2 separate regions of the Homo sapiens genome follow, and region 1 is linked to region 2. Evidence: promoter capture Hi-C in human tissues and cell types (Jung and others, 2019). All regions are on one chromosome and are shown on one strand. Each heading gives the region's core, a stretch centred on a gene start or on the middle of the fragment in contact. The rest is flanking DNA. Distances are from core to core; before and after follow the strand shown. Region 1 overlaps CYP2C19 (cytochrome P450 family 2 subfamily C member 19). Region 2 holds the start of CYP2C18 (cytochrome P450 family 2 subfamily C member 18).

The links. The method cuts DNA at HindIII sites, captures the fragments that hold promoters and counts their contacts. A contact is called where the count stands out against the background at its distance.
Region 1: a contact is called between a fragment that was not itself captured here and the fragment with the promoter of CYP2C18 in region 2, in 4 of the 25 tissues and cell types used here (H1 embryonic stem cells, liver, spleen and 1 more).

The regions. Positions count from the first base shown.
Region 1 is chr10:94,777,493-94,784,174 of GRCh38, forward strand. It overlaps CYP2C19 (cytochrome P450 family 2 subfamily C member 19), which reads left to right. Exons shown (of 9, transcript NM_000769.4): 4 at 3,007-3,167; 5 at 4,329-4,505. Among named protein-coding and RNA genes, the nearest start is that of CYP2C19, 18 kb to the left of the region's middle. The HindIII fragment of the contact is 7,000 bases long and covers 1,886-6,682 here.
Region 2 is chr10:94,681,452-94,687,664 of GRCh38, forward strand. It overlaps CYP2C18 (cytochrome P450 family 2 subfamily C member 18), which reads left to right and starts at 2,278. Exons shown (of 9, transcript NM_000772.3): 1 at 2,278-2,536. The coding sequence starts at 2,369. The HindIII fragment of the contact is 11,159 bases long and covers 1-6,213 here.

The DNA.
Region 1 (6,682 bases), core at 4,136-6,635, 99 kb after region 2:
TGCCACACATCTACAACCATCTGATCTTCAACAAACCTGACAAAAACAAGCAATGGGAAAAAGATTCCCTATTTAATAAATGGTGTTGGACAAACTGTCTAGCCATATGCAGAAAACAGAAACTGGATCCCTTCCTTTCATCTTATAAAAAAATTAACTCAAGATGGATTGAAGACTTAAACATAAAACCTAAAACTATAAAAACCCTAGAGAAAAACCCAGGTAATACCATTCAGGACATAAGCATGGGCAAAGACTTCATGACTAAAACACCAAAAGCAATGGCAACAAAAGCCAAAATTGACAAATGGTAAACTAAAGAGCTTCTGCATAGCAAAGGAAACTATCATAAGAGTGAACAGGCAACCTACAGAATGGAAGAAAATTTTTGCAATCTGTCCATTTGACTAAGGTCTAATATCCAGAATCCACAAGGAACTTAAACAAATTTACAAGAAAAAAAGAAAACAACAACAACAAAAAAAAACTGCTGGGTCTGTCCTGCAGACCCTGGCCAATGGATGAAATGAGTACTCATATACAGGTATGAGGTGTAAGAGCAGCTAGGGGACTGTCTGGCTCAAGTGGCCAGAGTGTAGCCTCGAGAAGCTGGAGCTGCATGTTTTTATTCAGTGCAGGCACAATGCTGAAAACCTGGAGCCCATGCAATCTGTAGGTAATTAATATTTATTGTTCCCCTTTCAGGGAACATCAAGAATGGATGATCAAAGGTCAGTTCCTGGTCAACATAAGTAAACAAGCCTGTTCAAGATGACTTCCCCTTCCCTCCCTTGTACATACTCCTCGTCCTCTCCCTCACGGTCAGAGAACAGCTGCGTTCAGCTATTCTCACCTGAAACTATGCAGAGCCTTCCGACCTTTCAGAAGGCCTGCTCCTTTCCCTATACTTTCTCCCACCACTCTGATGGATCTCCTACAAACAACCCCATCAAAAAGTAGGTGAAGGATATCAACAGACACTTCTCAAAAGAAGACATTTATGTGGCCAACAAACATATGAAAAAAAGCTCATCACTGGTCATTAGAGAATGCAAATCAAAACCACAATGAGGTAAAATCTCATGCCAGTTAGAATGGTGATCATTAATAAGTTAGGAAACAAGAGATGCTGGTGAGAATGTGGAGAAATAGGAAAGCTTTTACACTGTTGGTGGAAGTGTAAATTATTTCAACCACTGTGGAAGACAGTGTGGCGATTCCTCAATGCTAGAACCAGAAATTCCATTTGATCTAGCAATCCCATTACTGGGTATATACCCAAAGGGCTATAAACCATTCTACTATAAAGATACATACAAACGTATGTTTATTGCAGCACTATTTACAATAGCAAAGACTTGGAACCAACCCAAATGCCCATCAATGACACACTGGATAAAGAAAATGTGGCACATATACACTGTGGACTACTATGCAGCCATTAAAAAGAATGAGTTCATGTCCTTTGCAGGGACATGGATGAAGCTGGAAACCACCATCCTCAGCAAACTAACAGAGGAACAGAAAACCAAACACTGCATGTTCTCACTTATAAGTGGGAGTTGAAAAATGAGAACACATGGACACAGGAAGGGTAACATCACACACCAGGGCCTGTTGAGGGGTTGGGGGGCAAGGGGAGGGAAAGCATTAGGACAAATACCTAATGCATGTGGAGCTTAAAACCTAGATGACAGGTTCATAGATGCAGCAAACCACCATGGCACATGTATACCTATGTAACAAATCTGCACAATTCTGCACACGTGTCCCAGAACTTAAAGTAAAATTAAAAATTAAAAAATATAAAGTTTAACAATCACTTGATTACAACAACTTTATTTCAGAGATCCTCCACCAAACAAGAAAACCTTTTGTATAATTTAATTTATTTAGCTATTAAATGATAGACTTGGTCTAATCAATGTCAAATTTCAAATAAGTTAAATTTGAAGGATGATTAGAGATGATGGGCATTTAATTCCTAGAGAAGAAAATTCATTTTTAAAAAACTAAAGAAGAAACTAAAAACTCCATTTATTAATTTACTTTTTTTCCTTTTTCTTTTCTTTTCTTTTTTTTTTTTTGAGTTGGAGTCTCACTCTTTTGCCAGGCTGAAGTGCACTTGTGTGATATCAGCTCACTGCAACCTCTGCCTCCTGGATTCAAGTGATTCTCCTGCCTCAGCCTCCCAAGTAGCTGGGATTACAGGCACCCACCACCACACTCGACTAATTTTTGCATCCTTAGCAGAGATGGGGTTCACCATGTTGGCCAGGCTGGTCTTGAACTCCTGACCTCAGGTGATCCACCTGCCTTGGCCTCCCAAAGTGCTGGGATTACAGGCATGAGCCAGTGTGCCCTATCTAATTTACTTTTCCTTGTTTGCCTTATCTGGGATTTACATTTCAAATAACAAGTTTTTGTTTAATTTTTTTGACAAACTAATCTATGTTAGACATTCTATTCATTTATGTTTGTATTTGTTCTCATAAAACACATTCTGCTTCTTACATTTATTTTCTCAAATACATGAATTCACCCCTAGTCTCTCTAGTTCCTCTCTACTGGTTCAATACATGATTCTTTGAGCTATTTGTTGTAATATAAAAAGCTTTGAAATCCCCAACTATTCTCACCCTTTCTATCTCAGTGCTTTGTTGTCTACAGACTTTGCAGACTGATGTGATTCCCTCTGAAACTTGAATTATTTGGTTTCTAAAAAAGTCTCTTTTTTTCTTTCCAAAGTAAAAGACAAATAGGCCGGGAATGTAAATTTAGCATTTGAGCAACCATTATTTAACCAGCTAGGCTGTAATTGTTAATTCGAGATTAATGTAAAAGTGATGTGTTGATTTTATGCATGCCAAACTCTTTTTTGCTTTTAAGGGAATTCATAGGTAAGATATTACTTAAAATTTCTAAACTATTATTATCTGTTAACAAATATGAAGTGTTTTATATCTAATGTTTACTCATATTTTAAAATTGTTTCCAATCATTTAGCTTCACCCTGTGATCCCACTTTCATCCTGGGCTGTGCTCCCTGCAATGTGATCTGCTCCATTATTTTCCAGAAACGTTTCGATTATAAAGATCAGCAATTTCTTAACTTGATGGAAAAATTGAATGAAAACATCAGGATTGTAAGCACCCCCTGGATCCAGGTAAGGCCAAGTTTTTTGCTTCCTGAGAAACCACTTACAGTCTTTTTTTCTGGGAAATCCAAAATTCTATATTGACCAAGCCCTGAAGTACATTTTTGAATACTACAGTCTTGCCTAGACAGCCATGGGGTGAATATCTGGAAAAGATGGCAAAGTTCTTTATTTTATGCACAGGAAATGAATATCCCAATATAGATCAGGCTTCTAAGCCCATTAGCTCCCTGATCAGTGTTTTTTCCACTAAACTCCAAAGCCCTGTTTCTATAAAGTACTTTGGTGACAGCCCCAAAGCGTGCTTATATCACTCCATGGACATCCAGGCACTTTGGAGTCTTCCATTACTCACAAGGCTTGTCCTTCAATTCACACTTTGTCATATTGTGTGACAGAAATATCCTAATCTAAAAGACATTATCTCCTTCAAGGACAGAGAATATTTGGAACCACAGAAGCTGCCAAGAAACACTGAATAGGGCAGAGGTGTTTGATGTCTCAGTTGGGATTCTAGCTGATGAGACAGCTGGTTAGGAATGAAAAAATTATTGTTTTTTTGGTGTATGAACCATAAACAGACATCACACTTTTACCCTGTGCTGAATTGGCATGTTTTATACTCTGCCTAAATAATAATTGTATGATTTTACAGAAGTCATTTAACTGCTCTGGTGCACAGTTGGAATTTGAAGTATCTTTGAGCCCCTCCCACTTCTAAAATACTAATTCAATTTCAGAGGCTGCTTGATAGAAATCAATATAGCAGGGACTATCTTTGTAGTATCAATCAGGTTGTGCAAACTCTTTTAACCTATGCTATCATCTCCAAAATGTTAATGTAGTAATTCATACCATCTTATATTTCAAGATTGTAGAGAAGAATTGTTGTAAAAAGTAAGAGAATTAATATAAAGATGCTTTTATACTATCAAAAGCAGGTATAAGTCTAGGAAATGATTATCATCTTTGATTCTCTTGTCAGAATTTTCTTTCTCAAATCTTGTATAATCAGAGAATTACTACACATGTACAATAAAAATTTCCCCATCAAGATATACAATATATTTTATTTATATTTATAGTTTTAAATTACAACCAGAGCTTGGCATATTGTATCTATACCTTTATTAAATGCTTTTAATTTAATAAATTATTGTTTTCTCTTAGATATGCAATAATTTTCCCACTATCATTGATTATTTCCCGGGAACCCATAACAAATTACTTAAAAACCTTGCTTTTATGGAAAGTGATATTTTGGAGAAAGTAAAAGAACACCAAGAATCGATGGACATCAACAACCCTCGGGACTTTATTGATTGCTTCCTGATCAAAATGGAGAAGGTAAAATGTTAACAAAAGCTTAGTTATGTGACTGCTTGCGTATTTGTGATTCATTGACTAGTTTTGTGTTTACTACGGATGTTTAACAGGTCAAGGAGTAATGCTTGAGAAGCATATTTAAGTTTTTATTGTATGCATGAATATCCAGTAAGCATCATAGAAAATGTAAAATTAAATTGTTAAATAATTAGAATACATAGAAGAAATTGTTTAGATAAATATAATCTATCTGAACAATAAGGATGTCAGGATAGGAAAAGCTCTGTTCTGCAGCTTCCAGTGAGATCAGCACAGGAGGAACTTAAATTTAAAAGAAAATAAAAAACATCTCCATCAAAAAGTGAGTGAAGGATATGAACAGACACTTTTCAAAAGAAGTCATTGGAGAAATGCAAATAAAAACAACAATGAGATACCATCTCATGCCAGTTAGAATGGCGATCATTAAAAAGTCAGGATATAACAGATGCTGAAGAGGATGTGGAAAAATAGAAATGTTTTTACTCTGTTTGTGGGAGCGTAAATTAGTTCAATCATTGTGGAAGGCAGTGTGGCAATTCCTCAAGGATCTAGAACTAGAAATACCATTTGACCCAGCAATCCAATTACTGGATATATATCCAAAGGATTATAAATTATTCTATTATAAAGACACATGTACACATTTGTTTATTGTGCCACTATTCACAATAGCCAAGACTTGGAATCAACCCAAATGTACATCAATGACAGACTGGATTAAGAAAATGTGGCACATATACACCATAAAATACTATGGAGGCATAAAAAAGATGAATTCATGTCCTCTGCAGGGACATAGATGAAGCTGGAAGCCCCCACTCTCAGTAAACTAACACAGGAACAGAAAACCAAACACCGTATGTTCTCACTCATAAGTGGCAGTTGAACAATGAGAACACATAGACACAGGATGAGGAACATCACACACTGGGGCCTGTCAAGGGGTGGAGGGCTTGGGGAGGGATAACATTAAGAGAAATACCTAATGTAGATGACAAGTTCATAGGTGCAGGAGACCACCATGGCACGTGTGTACCTATTTAACAATCCTGCACGTTCTGCACATGTATCCCAGAACTTAAAGTATAATAATAATAACAATAACAAAAATCTACCCAAGGGGAAACAAAATGCAGGTTTTAGGTGAAATGGAAGCAATTATGAACAAGTTAGAAAATATAAAATATTATGTCATAGGATGAAAATGGGCATCATTATTGCACACAGTTTATTGGAGAATGGGAAAGAATGGTTTAACCTAGGTGGGTTTCCTGCATTCCTGCAGATTGAAATAGGCCTTAAAATATTTGCAGTGAGAGTCAGAAGAGGGGTTTCAGATGGGTTGGAATGCTTTACATGGAGGTGTAGAGGTGTGTGATGGAAAAGAGTAGGTGGATGGAAGAGGGAAGGCTTCATTGAGTGTAAACTAAAATGATTTGTACAGATAAGAATTGGAATTTGGTATCTATCAGATACCGTGTAAACATCACCTCTTTTGTCATTGCACCATTTTTGAAGAGGCTATTTTTTCCTCCTATTGAATTGTCTTGACAACCTTGTCAAAACCCAATTGACTATAAATGTGTGAAGGGTTTTTTTTGGGGGGCTCTCAATTCTACTCCATTGATCTATGTGTCTGTCCTAATGCCTATAGTACACCATCTTGAAGTCTTAATTACTGTACCTTTGTATTAATATCAACTTATTAAATCAAGGAGTGTGAGTCTTTTGTTGTTCTTTTTCAATACTGTTTTCACTATTCTGGGTCCCTTGAATCTTCATATGAAATTTAGGATCAACTTGTCAATTTCTTCAAAGGAGCCAATGGGAATTTTGACAGGATTGCATTAAATCTGTAGAACAGGGAGTTATGCCATTTTAAAAATTGAAGTAAAATTCACACAACATACAATTAACCAGTTTAAAGCATACACCTAAGTGGTATTTAATGTATTCACAATGTTGTGCAACCATCAGCTTTCTCTGGTTTCAAAATGTTTTTATCACGCCACAAAAACGTATTATATTCGCTAAATAATCACTCCATTCCCCCACTCCATCATGTAATAACCTCTAATCTTTTTTCTGTCTCTATGGGTTTGCGTGTTATGGATATATAAAGAATTCATAGCATATGCAACCTTTTATTTCTGGGT
Region 2 (6,213 bases), core at 1,028-3,527:
TAAGTCTAAAGATCTAATAAACAGCAAGAGGACTATAGTTAATATACTATACTGAAAATTTGCTAAAAGAGTAGATTTTAGGTGCTTATACCACAAAAAAGAAGTTAATTATAGAATTGATTAATATGTAAATTTGTTTAACCATAGTAATGATTCCACTGTTTATATGTCTACCAATGTTGTATACCTTAAATATATACAATGGAAATAAACAAATAACTGTACTAGTCATTTAGAATACCACAATGACATCTTTACAGAATATGCCTTTGTACAAGCATTGCCATTAGTGATCTAGAAATGTATGTATCATTTTAGTGATATATAGAGCCTCATGAGCGCTAAATGTCATCTCCAGTTCAGGTCTGCACAACTGTGTTTGTTCTGTGCCATGGGTCTGTTTAATGATTTCCCTACCTCCCATTCACCACTGAAGCACATGCCTGTTGTTCTGCCTATAATTCCCCTTCCTTGCTGTGCAATATTTCATTCCATTATTTCTGACACAGACCAAAAAAGCAATAGAAACAGCAGTGTCTGGAGGCAAGTGGGAGCTGGAGAAGCCATAGTTTCTGAGATCTTACCCACTTAATTCTCTGAGATTGGCTCTTTCCTCAGTTATACTGAGTAGGTTTCAGCTCTTCAGTGACAGAGAGGGGAGAAACCCTAGCTTTTATTTCTTCTCTTGAGAATGTACAACCCTGTTATTTTGTGAACAGTGTGGTGTAGATTCAGAGTGAGAAATGTTTTTAGGATTTATTTTATTTTGCTAAAACTGTTCTCAAGGCAGCTCTGGTGTAAGTGAGAATATACCACAGCGGGCGTCAGAAGATCTCAGTTCAAATCCCAGCCTGCCATTTATGAGCTGTGGGACACTGGACAGGTCATCTGTTCTCCTAGAGTCTCCCTTTCCCCATTTGGAAAATATGAAATAATATTCTCAGCCGTCCAGTGTTTTTCACGGGGTTTAATGGAAAAAGGTGTGTATGTTTACTTAGTTAATTGATAACCGGTTTAGCCATTTAAGATGAATGAGTTTGTTAGCTGCTTTATGTTTAGGCAGCTGTAATGTTAGTACTACATTAAAATATTTCAAAAGGATCTCATTTTCAAGGAAAATGATCTAGTGTTTGAGAAAGCATTATAGTGTTGCAGTCTTGCAGATCCTTAGCTCAGCTAGGTCCGAGTTGTCTTATGCAGGAAGAATTAGGCACACAGACACTGGAGAGTGAGTGGAGTAGAATTTATTAAGTGAAAGGAAAACTCTCAGCAAAGAGAGAGGCCCTGAAAGCAGGTTGCAGATTGCCACTTCACAGTTGAATACCAGGACTTTTATAGAAAAGCTGATGAGGCTGGGATACTTATTTGCATAAGGCGTGAATTCCTGGTGTTTCCACCCCTTCCTTCCATTGCGCGTGTGGGCTCTTAGTCTAAGCCACTCCATATTGATTTATTTCCCTTCCTGCGCATGTGTTAAAGGTAGGAATTTTTCACTGTGGGCATATTTAGGCAAGCTCCCTGTGCAAGTTCCCTTATCTGCACAAAACATCTAGTGTAAGTACTTGGGGTTTTTGTGGATTGGGCAATGACCTGGAAGGGTTGGAGGTTCTCTGGGGACCCTTCCCTTACTGCCTGCCTAATGCAAGCTGGCTAACTCCTCTCAATAGGATAAACATTATTTTATGTACAAGGAATATAATACACAGATTGCCCTCAAAGTCATATTTCCAACTGCTCATCAATCTAAAAATCCAAAATTTTGAATAATTTTTTGATGAAATAATTTATTTCATTGTTTCTCAATTTTGGCTGCACAGTGGAACCACCTGGGCTGTTTGAAAAAACCTAGGCCTAGCCAGGCACGGTGGCTCATGCCTGTAATCCCAGCACTTAGGGAGACCAGCCTGGCCAACATGGTGAAACCCTGTCTCTGCTAAAAATACAAAATCACCTGGGCGTAGTTGTGCATTCCTGTAATCCCAGCCACGCCAGAAGCTGAGGCAGAATCGTTCGAATCCAGGAAGTGGAGGCTGCAGTGAGTTGAGATCTTGCCATTGCACTCCAGCCTGGGCAACAAGAGCGAAACTCCATCTCAAGGAAAAACAACAACAACAACAACAAAATCCTGGGCTCTGCTTCAGACTAGTTAAACCAGAATCTCCAGGGTGGGGCACCGGAAAGAACAAGAAAAAAGAACACCTTATTTTTATCTTCTTCAGTGAGCCAATGTTCATTCAAAAGAGAGATTAAAGTGCTTTTTGCTGACTAGTCACAGTCAGAGTCAGAATCACAGGTGGATTAGTAGGGAGTGTTATAAAAGCCTTGAAGTGAAAGCCCGCAGTTGTCTTACTAAGAAGAGAAGCCTTCAATGGATCCAGCTGTGGCTCTGGTGCTCTGTCTCTCCTGTTTGTTTCTCCTTTCACTCTGGAGGCAGAGCTCTGGAAGAGGGAGGCTCCCGTCTGGCCCCACTCCTCTCCCGATTATTGGAAATATCCTGCAGTTAGATGTTAAGGACATGAGCAAATCCTTAACCAATGTAAGTATGCTTTATGTTCCTCCAGTAATGTACAAGGTGTATTTAACCTCACAATTCTTAAAGTTTTATTTCATTTTAAAGTGATAAATGATAATTGTATATATTAATGGGGTACAATATTACATTTTGATACATGTATAGATTGTGAATTGATCATATCAGGGTAATTAGCATATCCATCATCTCAAATATTTGTCATTTCTTTGTAGTGAGAACATTTAAAATCCTCTTTTTTAGCTGTTTTGAAATATACAGTACATTAATATTAATTATAGTCACCTTGCTGTCCAATAGAACACCCGAGCTTATTCCTCCTATCTAAGTGTAACTCTGTACCTGTTGACCAACGTATCCCCTTATTTGGCCCATCTCCACCTGCCAGCCTCTGGTAGCCACCATTCTAATCTCTACTTCTCTGAGTTTAACTTTTTAAGATTCCACATAGAAGTGAGATCATATATGATATTTGCCTCTCTCTGCCTGGCTTATTTAATTAATATGATGTTCTGTAGATTCATCCATGCCGTCATAAATAAGAATATTTTTTCCTCTTTAAAAGGCTGAATAGCATTTCATTGTACATATATGTCACATACAAAATCCATTAATTTATTGATGAACACTTAGGTTGTTTCCATATCTTGGCTATTGTCAATAGCACTGCAATAAACATGGAAGTACAGACATGTCTTCCACATACTGACTTCAATTCCTTTGGGTATATACTGGTAGTGGGATTGCTGGATCATCTGATAGTTCTATTTTTGTTTTTTTTAGGAACATCCATACTGTTTTCTCAAATCACAATGCTAATTTACATACCCAAGGTTCACTTTATTCCACATCTTTGTCAACACTTGTTATCTTTTTATCTTTTTGATAATAATAATATCTTATCTATGAGTTGTGATGAGTTATCTCATTGTGGTTTTAATTTGCATTTCTCTGATGATTAAATTTGTTGAGTATTTAAAAAATATATCTTGGCCATTTGTATGTCTTTTTTTGAAAAATGTCTACTCAAATCCTTTGCCCATTTAATTAATTAATTAATTAATTAATTAATAGAGACAGGGTTTTGCTCTGTTGTAGGATGGAGTGTAGTGATGGGATCATGGTCCCTGCAGCCTTGAGCTCCTGGGCTCAAGCCATCCTTCTACCTTAGACCCCCAAGTAGCTGGGGCTACAGGTGTATGCCACCATGCCTGGATAATTTTTTAATGCTTTGTAGAGATGTGGTCTCATTATGTTGTCCAGGCTGGTCTTGAACTCTTGGGCTCAAGCAATCCACCCACCTTTGTCTCTCAAAGTGCTGGAATTACAGACATGAGCCATTGCACTTGACCCCTTTGCTCGTTTTAAATAGAATTATTTATTTGTTATTGAGTAATTTGAGTTTCTAAGTATTTTGGGTGGTCAGAATCTCATTTGTCTAGTTTTGCTTTCATGGCCTGTACTTTTAGGATCATATCCAAGAAATCATTGCCTAGACCAATGTCATGGAGTTTTTCTATATGGTTTCTTTCAGTAGTTTTTAGTTTCAGGTCTTATGCTTAAGGCTTTAATTCATTTTGAGTTAATTCTTGTATAAGGGTGAGATTAGGATTCTCTTTTATTCTTTGCATATGAATATCCAGTTTTCCCAACACCTTTTGCTGAAGAGTGCTTTCCCCATTGTATGTTCTTGGCACCTTTGTCAAAAATCAATTGATTATAGATGTGTGGGCTTATTTCAGGGTTCTCTACGCTTTTCCTTTAATCAGTGTGTCTATTTTTATGCTAATGCTATGCAGTTTTGCTTACTATAGCTTTGTAACATATTTTGCAGTTCAGTGGTGTGATGCCTCCAGCTTTATTCTTTTTGATTAATTTGCTTTAGTTATTTGGGGTCTTTTGTGGTTCCATACAAATTTTAAGATTTTTTTTCTATTTCTGTGAAGAATGAGATTAAAATTTTGATAGGGATTGCACTGAATCTGTATATTGCTTTGGGTAATATGGACATTTTTCCACTATTAGTTTTTCCAATCCATGAACATGGGATATCTTTGCCTTTATTTGTGTCATCTTCAATTTCTTTCATCAATGATTTGTAGTTTTCAGTATATAGATCTTTCTCTTCCTTGATTAAATTTATTCATAAGTATTTTATTTTTTGATGCTACTATAAATTAATTGTTCTCTTAATTTCTTTTTTAGATATTTTGTTGCTAGTGTATAAAAATGCCACTGATTTTTGCATGTTGATTTTTTATCCTTCAAGTTTACTGAATTTGTTTATCAGTTCTAGCACTTTTGTACTGAAGTCTTTAGATTTTCTACATATAAGATTATTTCATCAGGAAACAGACAATTTCACTTCATCCTTTCCTACATGAATACATCCTTTCCTATACGAATATTCCTATATGAATATTTTCTGTCTTTAGTCTAATTGCTCTGACTAGGACTTCCAGTACTCTGTTGAACAGAAATGGTCAGAGGGGGCATTCTTCTCTTATTTCTGATCTTAGAGGAAAAGCTTTTAGCTTTTCACCATTAAATATGATGTTAGCTGTGGGCTTGCCACATATAACCGTTAATGTCACATAGAAACTTCTGTATTACTGGAGGCCAGTTATTAAAGGTTATATGTTATAGGAACATTCCTCAGCATTCCTCCTGTACCAGCAGAGGCTGATTATTAAAGTATGCTATTGTAAAGCAAATACTTCCTGTGGAGTATGTTTTTCTTTTTTGTCATTGTCAGAAATAGTGGAATAAAATAATGCATTTTGCCAGAAGAGAAACATTTCAAGTGGTAAGGTAGAATCAAAATGATAAAGGCCTGCTGCTTTCTTTGCTTCACAGTCATTTGCTATATTTTTTTGCCTGAAGGAAAATGGTAGTGGAAGTGTTTTGTGATTAAAGATTTTGAGAAGTCAGTCACTGTATATGCTATGTATTTTGCTTAGATTAGCCATGATCATTAAACGTCTTAAAAAAGCAAATCATGCCTGATGTCAAAGAAATATCTATGAGTTCATCATAAACATAAACGAATGAAAGAAAGAATTAATTAGTCAGGGCCATCTGGGTGGTAACAGAATATTTATGGCCTCTGTACAAAGCTGCTGTCTGTGACCTATGAGTGTATAGCATGGAAAACATTTTTCCTCTGTGAGATGCCACACATCCTGATACTATCTCTGTTGGATCCACTCTCCTTCTGTGGTGATTATACCAGTGGATCTCAAAGTGGGCTGGGCAGTAGAATCATTTGGGTGATTTAAAAAGGTGTAGATTTTTTAGTATTGATGACAGGACTCCTGCATCAGGATCCCTATGGGATGAGCTTTGCAGGAGATCCTGAAGCAGTGTCCCAGCAGCTGATTATTGGTCAAAATATGGACATTAGGAACTGATAAACTGCTCAGGCTCACAGCTTGACTAAGCAGGCTTCAAATTTGGACCTTCTGTTTATCAGCTGTGGGACACTGGCAGTGAATTTGAAATTCTTTAAAATACAATCTGTCTTATCTGTAAAATAGAGTAAACAAGGTGTTGATGTGATGATTAAGTTTAATAGCCTGCATACTACTTGCTTGGCACATTGAAGGCACTGTATATGTGCAGCTAAAACAATAATCATCATCTTTGTCTAAAATATACAAATATTTGAAGCTGTATTTGACAGA